Regions from separate parts of the Homo sapiens genome. Here regions 1 and 2 are each linked to region 3. The links are contacts of gene promoters, found by promoter capture Hi-C in blood cells and fetal thymus (Javierre and others, 2016). All regions are on one chromosome and are shown on one strand. The core of a region is centred on a gene start or on the middle of the fragment in contact, and the rest is flanking DNA. Distances in the headings are between cores, read along the strand shown.

Region 1 (2,700 bases), core at 128-2,627, 630 kb before region 3:
GTTTCATCTTCAGGCTGCTTCCTCTTTATGTCTTACCCGTTTTTAGAGATTGTAGATGGGACAATCCTATCTAGACGTTTCCTTCCTTGCTCTCACCAGACCCCCAGCCCTGAAAACTGAAGTTAGCCATAAAAGAAATCAGGAGAGGAGGGCCCTTTTCCTGAGTCACTTCCTCTTGGTGTCTGCTTTTCCTTCTCAAGCCTGAGCTCCCTTGACAGGTGAAGTTACCTGGGGCTGTGGGCCCTGGAGAAGCCATCTTAAAAGCCGTGCCCGGTGGCACTCCCAGGGCATCCAGCTAGGCTTCTGGTCCCCGCGCTGCTCAGGACTGGCCTCGGTGATTCTTTTGGTCTCCCCCACCAGCAAAGAGGCCTTGAGGACTGGAAGGTGTCTACCTGTCTCAGCTCCAGCACCTGGCATTCAGGCCTGTTTGGGTAGATGAAGTACAGCACCATAGCCTCTGCAGCCCTTATTTATTTATTTATTTATTTATTTAGACTCTCGCTCTGTCACCCAGGCTGGAGTGCAATGGTGTGATCTCGGCTCACTGCAACCTCCACCTCCCAGGTTCAAGCAATTCTCCCTGCCTCAGCTTCCAGAGTAGCTGGGATTACAGACTTCGCCACCACACCCAGCTAATGTTTGTATTTTTAGTAGAGACAGGGTTTCGCCATGTTGACCAGGCTGGTCTTGAGCTCCTGACCTCAGGTGATCCACCCACCTTGGCCTCCCAAAGTGCTGGGATTACAGGCATGAGCCACCGCTCCCAGCCAGCCCATTTAACTCAGTGAATTTAACAATCTGTTCTCAGCAAATAAGACCATTGCCCTTGGGCTGCAAACCACCCAGATCATTTGAGCCATAAGTTCTGATGGGCTCACTGCACTTGAGAAGGATTGTGAGCATTCCAAGGGGAATTGCATGTGATTTTTGTCCCAGCAACTGCTGTGGGACCCAGCCTTCCTAAGCTGTGGCTCCATCTCTCTAAACCTCAACATTAGCCTGGCTGCAGGCCCCGTGTTAGGCATCCAGCCTGAGCTGTATGTCCCCACTTGCTCTGAAGGCATCAACATGATGGGAAGCATATGAAACAGGTGGCTACTTGCTCTTCTCTCAGTCCTGCTGAATCTGAATTTCCGAGGGGGCTCCAGGAGCCCCCACTTGATTCAGTTCTCCGGGTGGTTCTCTTGCACACTGCAGTTTGAGAGTAGTTGACTTCAAGGGTTTGACGATTTTCTTGTCTCCGTCTGGGTTGGTGTGTCCTTGGTTTAACCCTTCAAAGCATTGTCTGCTATTTTTCTGGGGTTGTGAGTTACATCTAATCTGAATGGGAAATTGCATTACCCAAACCTGAAAAAGCATTGCTGCATTGTCTCCAAAATATTGCTAATGGTCATGGAACTTGGCTTGCATTTCAGTTGGTAACCTTTAATTTCCTTTTCTCTCATTTCTCTCAGGTATCTGTACCACGTTTTGACCAAAAACACCACAGTCACAGAACAGAACCGGAACCTGCTAGTGGAGACCATCCGTTCCATCACTGAGATCCTGATCTGGGGAGATCAAAATGACAGCTCTGTATTTGAGTAAGGGTTTCTAATGATTGCTGTTCTTTGATTATTCTTCTTTGAATGTTTTTCTAAATGTATACTATGAGTCATTCTGGATGATGTCAGGATTTGACGCTAATTTGATCTTGCCTAGATATCTATCTCTGTCTAGCTGTAAAAAAAAAAAAAAAATGCCCTTGAAGCACTATAGAAATGCAAGCCAAAAATGGGGAAGTTATGGAAATGAGTGTCTCTAGAAAACCTGAAAATGTCATGGGTAATTTTCCTTCAGGTTGTGTCTGATTATTTTCCCAAAGGAAGGAGAACATGTCTGGTGGTTAGATTTGACATGAACAGAAGGCCTGTGCCCTGGGGGAGTCCCTGAGGGCTCCCAGTTACCATGTTTACTGATGACCAGGCACAGGGCTGAGCTCCTGATGAGATGGTCCACCTAAGTTTCCCACCCACCCCATGGTAGAGGCCCTGTTGGTGTCCCCTTTTTTGCTCAAGGTCACATAGCTGGTAAGCGGTGGAAAAGTGACACACCCAGAATCAGTGAGGGGTCCCGCAACTCACCACTTCCTAGGTGAGCAGTCCTCAGCCAGGCTCTTCATCTCCCTAAGCCTCAGTTTCTTTACCTTTAAAAGAGAGAGAAAAAGTTCTCTTTGTCTAGTGCCTGGTACAGGAATAAATGATAGCAAATGATAAAGACAGACGTGCCTCACTGGACAGTTAAAAAGCAAGGGCCGCCAGGCGCGGTGGCTCACACCTGTAATCCCAGCACTTTGGGAGGCTGAGGCAGGAGGATCGCTTGAGCCCAGGAGTTTGAGACCAGCCTGGGCAACATACAGAGACCTCGTCTCTACGTATAATTAAAAAATTAGTCATGCATGGTTGTGTGTGCCTGTGTTCCCAGCTACTCAGAAGGTTGAGGTGGGAGGATTGCCTGAGCCCAGGAGGTCCAGGCTGCAATGAGCCATGATCTTGCCACTGCACTCCAGCCTGGGTGACAGAGTGAGACCATGTCTCAAAAAAAAAATAGCAAGGGCTGTTAACTGTGAACTACCTCCCTAATAGATCTGCCTTGATGTCTTAGTGCAGAAGGATTTGGGGCTGGGTTATGACAACCACTAAACACGGGTGTGTGTGTGTG
Region 2 (2,700 bases), core at 5-2,504, 650 kb before region 3:
AGAGACGGGGTCTCACTATGTTGCCCAGGCTGGTTTCAAACTCAAGTGATCCTTCCACCTCAGCCTCTATAAAATTTGAATAAAGTTGTAGATGAGATTGGTCATAGGATTGTATAGTGTATCAATATTAGATTTGCTGATTTTGACAACCCTACTGTGGTTATGCAAATTTGTCCTTGTTCTAAGGAAATAAATACTGAATTATTTAGGAGTAAAGGTGCATAATGAACCCATTTTCAAATGCTTATGAAAATTACACATATACACATGTGTGCATATACACAGGCATGCATATACAAACAGAGGGAAGAGCATGCACGTGTACATGAGCAAAGTGCTAACTGGTGCAACTGGTGAGTTTGGGCGGGCATTGTTTGTGCTCTTGCAACTTTTCTGTAAGTGTGAAATTACTTCATAACAGAGGTTTTTGTTTGTTTGTTTGTTTTTAATTCAGGAAAAAGTTGGAAGAGTGCGTATGAAATAGGCCTGGCAGAAACTATGAGCTGGTGTTCCAAGGTCGGGGATGGGGAGCCCTCACTGGAGGCACCCCTCAAACCCTCAGTGCTGTGGCCAGGGAACCGGGCTGGCAGTCTTAGTTGGCTTTGTTCCCTCGGCCTCCACTTCCCCATTCTGTGCCTCCATTTATTTGTGAGACAGGGATAAAGAGGTCTGCCACTTTTATTGTGATCTTAGGTTTCCCAAAAGCCGAGTATGCTTTCAGAAGTTCTGGGAGGAAAGCTAGCAGATAAACCAGAAATATGAATATCCAAATTGAGAGAAGCCCTCACTTTCTTAGTTCGGCAAAACAGACACATGAGCTGTAAGTGGGGCAGACCCTGCCTGTTTCTTGGCTGAAATCTCCAGTTTGTATAATTCAGGGCTAAGAGAGCAGGACTCTTGACATCTCACTGTCTTGAGACACATACTGGGGTTTTCTCCTGTCTGAAGACGCAGCTGGCACCAATGTACCCTATGGCCAAGGACCTTCTGGGTGAGCCTCATGTCAGGAGCAGAGCTGGAGAGGTGGCCAGGCCTGGGGGTATACTTGCCTCCCTGTGTCACCATTGTCTGTCTCTTGCTTAGATGACAGCCACAGCTTCCTGGCCTGGTTTCCTGCATCCGCCCTGACCCCTGGCTGTGGGATCTCCCATAACTCAAATCTGACTGTGTCCCTGTGGAAGGTTTGGGTTTCTGACCTGGGCAGCTCTATGTCCGGCACAGGGGTTCTGCTGATAGCACAGGCCACAGATTGGCAAGGAGGGACCAGGTTAGGAAGGAGCAGCTGTGGTTCCTAGTTGGGAGATAACTGAAGCCTAGGAAATCCTGGAATAAGATAGACCAATGCATCGATAACCCTCAGCTCCAAATCTGAGCTGCACCAGGACAAGCTGACTCTGGTGGCAACGTTCTCCAGTCTCTGCATTTTCAGCTCGCTGTGTGCCAAGAGAGGGCTGGCAGGTACCAGCAGCTTTCACTTTCATTAGGAACCGGGACGAATAATCCAACTGAGCTGCCTCTGCACCAGAACTGCTGGGACGTGAAGACTCTCCCTGGCTCCCAGGCCAGCCACTGCAGCCCTTTCTCCTGGGAAGGAGGGAGCTCCCGATTCCCCATTCCCTGCTCCTGGGCAACAATTAACACTCTAGGAAAACCACAGAGCCGGCTATCCAGGGTTCTGGTGCCCTGGGGACCACAGGGCAGCAAGAAAGTTCTCCTAAGGGTCCTGGGGCTGGGAAGGCAGAGTGGGAAGTCTCCCCCAGCTAGGCTAGACCTGGACCTCCCTGGCACTCAGGCAGCCTGTCCTCTTCTGCTCACAGGATATAAATATTCATGCATGAGTATAGGTGCAGGTTTGTACATTTGCAAGGGCATGGGTATAACACGCTTTCCATTGTATCCGACTATGAATATGAGTGGTTAATATTAATACATCTCTTACTATATACAAGGAGATCTAAGTGCTTTATGTATATCTCACCTAATCCTCACAACAAGGGAGATTTTCATTATTTCCATCTTCTAGAAGAGGAAACCAAAGTACAGGGAGGTTAAGCAGCATGCCCAAGGTCACAGCTACCCTGGGATGTGAACCCAGGGCCCTGGCTCTTAACCATGACCCTAATACTGCCTCCTCAAGTAGGTGCTCAGCAAATGTTTGAGGAACTGAATTATGTGGGTCCACACATAAGAGAAAAAAAAAAAAAAGAGGGAGCAAAAGTAGGTGCACCTGTTCATCTTGAGATTCATCCTGGGCCCCACTGTGTGACATGCTCCACGCCCTTAGTCACTGTTTCCTGGATTGGCGTGTGGGGAACACATGTGACCACATGAGAATGGCTGAGAAAGAGCAGGACTGACTACCGGCGTTCCCCTGCTTATGGAAAGGGGCCTGGAGATGAGGCTCGGTCAGATCATCTTGAGGTCTTTCCTGGCGGCTTCCCTGCTGCTAGCTACCCCTCTCATACCCTGGGGTTCTGAGCTTCCTCGGCACTTGGGGGCAAGGCCTCCTTGGCTTGGATTTGAGGGTGGGGAGGAGGGAAGGCTGTGCATGGCTTCCACCACTTCTCCAGGCCTCCCCACTTCCCAGGGTCAGGCCCTGACACCCCGAGAGCTTTGCAAGGGTGTCCCTGAGAGATATTTCCTGGTGTTTCTGCTTAAACAGCGTTTGCTGCAAAATATGTCGAAGCATTTGGGATTCAG
Region 3 (2,700 bases), core at 116-2,615:
AACACTGGTGGAATTCCAGATACCAGCCTGCACTTCTCTCTGTAGGCATCTGGGTTAGTCCTAAATAGGAAGTCCTAAAAAGAGTCACTCTGAGAAGGCAGGGGGTGAGAGGGCAGATGAAGCAGCCAAGCACACATTAAGGCAAATCATGGCTTTCCTAAAGAGGACCCCAAGCTGGGCTTCAGACAGTCTTTGAACCAGCACCAGTGCACCAGGCCAAGGGGAGGGAGGCATCCTCTTTGGGAAGACTGGTAGGAGCTTGGAAGACCCCGTGGCTTCCACAAACTGTAGATTTCCCAGTGACCACTGCTCAGTCCAACAGCCAGTGACATCAGCTCCACTGTCGGGAAGTAGAAAACCAGTGAAGGTCCAACTAGCCTGGTCCCTGAAGCATGACTGGCCCTTCCAGAACATACACCTTTCCCCTATCACCTCCTCTCCCTGACCCCGAAGAGCTTCGGGCACACCACCAACTGACCACCTATCCACAGTGACCTGCAAACCAGAGCGGGGAGGGTATTTGCCTAGCTTGGCAGGGAGGGGCGAGATCCACTTCTGCCACCAGTCACCAGCTGGTCCCACCAGCACCTACCCAGCACCGGCGGTGGACGGTGAGCGGCGTCTGGGCCCAGAGCTGGGTGCCATCAGCAGTAAGAGGACCCCTGCGCTCGCGGGGTGCCCGCCTTACCCCGCGGGGAGGGGTCAGGCCTAGGGGCCACGGCCCGCTTCGCTCTCTGATTTTCACCTCCCCAGGGTCTCCCAGGGGCCTCGGGTGTCCTTCCCGGATCTTGCGCGAAGTCGCGGGGGCAGGGAGAGAAACGCGGGTACCCGCGCCCCTAGAAGTCAAATGTTTGGCAAATAGCATTTGGGAATTCGTTGGGGTTTTTTTGTTTGTTTTGGTTTTGTTTCTGAACCCCCGGGGGATATTTCTGGAAATCTCAACCTGAGTCACTAGAGAGAATCGCGCCTTTTTCTAAAAAGCCCAGGGGCCGTCCTCTCCGGGGAGGGGGACGCGGCGGGCCGCGAAGGGCGCTCGTTCGGGTGGGGGCCGGACGACCCCGCCACGCGCGATCGGGCCACTCTGGGACGCAGGAGCTGAACCCAACCGGAGACGCGGCCGGGACCAGCGCTGGGAGGCCGGACCCCGCCCCGGCCGGGCCCCCACGCCCTCCGCCGCGCCTCGATGCCCGCGACCCGACCCGCGCCCCCTGGCATCCCAGGAGGCCCCAGCCAAGGGCTCAGTGCCCGGGGCCCCCAGCAGGTGCTGGCGCCACCGGCCCCCCGCTGTCTCCCGCTGGTCCCCGCGCCCCGGCGTCCCCGCGCCGCACTCACCGCCGCCCGCGCCGCCTGTCGAGCCGGGAGGTCTGAGCTGGCCTCTCGGGCGCCCCGAGAAAAGGGCCGGGCGGCGGGGACGGGGGCGGGGGCTGGACCCGCCGGGGCGGAGCGCGGCCGGCTTGGGCTTCCGGCTTCTCCCGCCCCCGCGGCCCGCACCTGGGCCCCAGGCGAGACCACCGCCGGTTCCCCGCCTCACTCTGATCGCCCCCAGGCTCCATCCCACACCCGGCTCGCTCGCCACCCCAGAGCTTCCCAGGCTTACCCCCGAGACGCCTGGCGCGGACCTGGTGTCTCCCCCACTCTCCTATCCTGCCCCTGCCTCTCGGTGCCAGCCCCACCCGTCCGCCCCCGACAGCCTGGCCCTCCCTCCTGATTTGCCGCTCGCGGCTCTCCCCACTTTCCCCCCTCCCCGCGCCGCTCCACCACTTCCAGGCGGCGGGACCACCAACCTCGACCCCGGACCCGCGCTGGGGCGCTCCCGGCCCTCTGGAGGGCGGCCCTTCTCTTCCTGTAACTCTACAGACGCGTCCGGACAGACCAAGACACTCTCTGTGCCTTCGGGCATGTTACCCATCCTCTCTGAGCTCGGCTTCCTGTCTGCAAAATGGGCACAATAGCGGTCCTGTCTCCTAAGACCGACTGGGAGTGAACTGGGAAGATGGTAAAGTTTTTAGCACAGGATAGGTATTAGGTAAGGCTTATCAGCTGCCTGTCCGCTTTGTGCCCCCAGGGTGGTCCGTGCCGCCAGGTAGGCCTTTCTCAGCCATCACTGAAAGCAAGCTCTGGAAATCAGTAGCCCCATTTCACATCCGCCCCTAAATGGGTGCCATCTGCCCGTCTGCTTGGAGCCCCATCGGCCGGCTGCAGTGATAACAGCAGCAGCCTGGATCCAGCAGGCTCTCTGGGAAATCATTAGAGGGAATTAAGAAGCATGCCTGGCTTTCAGAGTACACAGAGTCAGGAGATGGGCAGAACCATGATGTGGCCATCCACAAACAAACGCCATTTGGACAGGGAGCTTCCGAGCCCCATGCTGGCAAAGACCTGGATCTTAGAACCCTCCGGTGCCCAAATCCCATGCCTTTACCCGAGGTCCTAAAGATAGTGAGGCCCAGATAGGGAGTGTGGCTTGTCCCGGGTCCCTCAGCAAAGTGTCCCCAGCCCCAAGTTCTTGCCACCTTGCGCCATGTCCACTGACGGGCCACCCTCAGCCGTGGACGAGTTACCAAGTTGGAAGGGATTTCAAAGTTCTCCCAAGCATAGGAGGTTCCCATGTAGATGTTATTAGTGTGGGCAACATTTTACTGCTTTTAAAATATGAAGGGGGCGGGTGCAGTGGCTCTTGCCTATAGTCTCAGGACTTTG

The links. The method cuts DNA at HindIII sites, captures the fragments that hold promoters and counts their contacts. A CHiCAGO score of 5 or more calls a contact.
Region 1: a contact is called between a fragment that was not itself captured here and the fragment with the promoter of LITAF in region 3, in 6 of 17 cell types (activated CD4 T cells, total CD8 T cells, naive CD4 T cells and 3 more). The highest score is 9.4, in activated CD4 T cells.
Region 2: a fragment that was not itself captured here is called in contact with the fragment with the promoter of LITAF in region 3 in 1 of 17 cell types (activated CD4 T cells); the score reaches 6.7 in activated CD4 T cells.

The regions. Positions count from the first base shown.
Region 1 is chr16:10,956,328-10,959,027 of GRCh38, forward strand. It overlaps CLEC16A (C-type lectin domain containing 16A), which reads left to right. Exons shown (of 24, transcript NM_015226.3): 2 at 1,455-1,583. Among named protein-coding and RNA genes, the nearest start is that of CLEC16A, 13 kb to the left of the region's middle. The HindIII fragment of the contact is 8,463 bases long and covers 1-2,700 here.
Region 2 is chr16:10,936,179-10,938,878 of GRCh38, forward strand. It overlaps CIITA (class II major histocompatibility complex transactivator), which reads left to right. Exons shown (of 20, transcript NM_000246.4): 20 at 1-216. All of the region lies in intron 1 of DEXI (Dexi homolog), which reads right to left. Among named protein-coding and RNA genes, the nearest start is that of DEXI, 4.9 kb to the right of the region's middle. The HindIII fragment of the contact is 5,264 bases long and covers 1-2,700 here.
Region 3 is chr16:11,585,554-11,588,253 of GRCh38, forward strand. It overlaps LITAF (lipopolysaccharide induced TNF factor), which reads right to left and starts at 1,366. Exons shown (of 4, transcript NM_001136472.2): 1 at 1,333-1,366. RefSeq lists an enhancer at 120-229 and silencers at 1,130-1,209, 1,240-1,719. The HindIII fragment of the contact is 18,010 bases long and covers 1-2,700 here.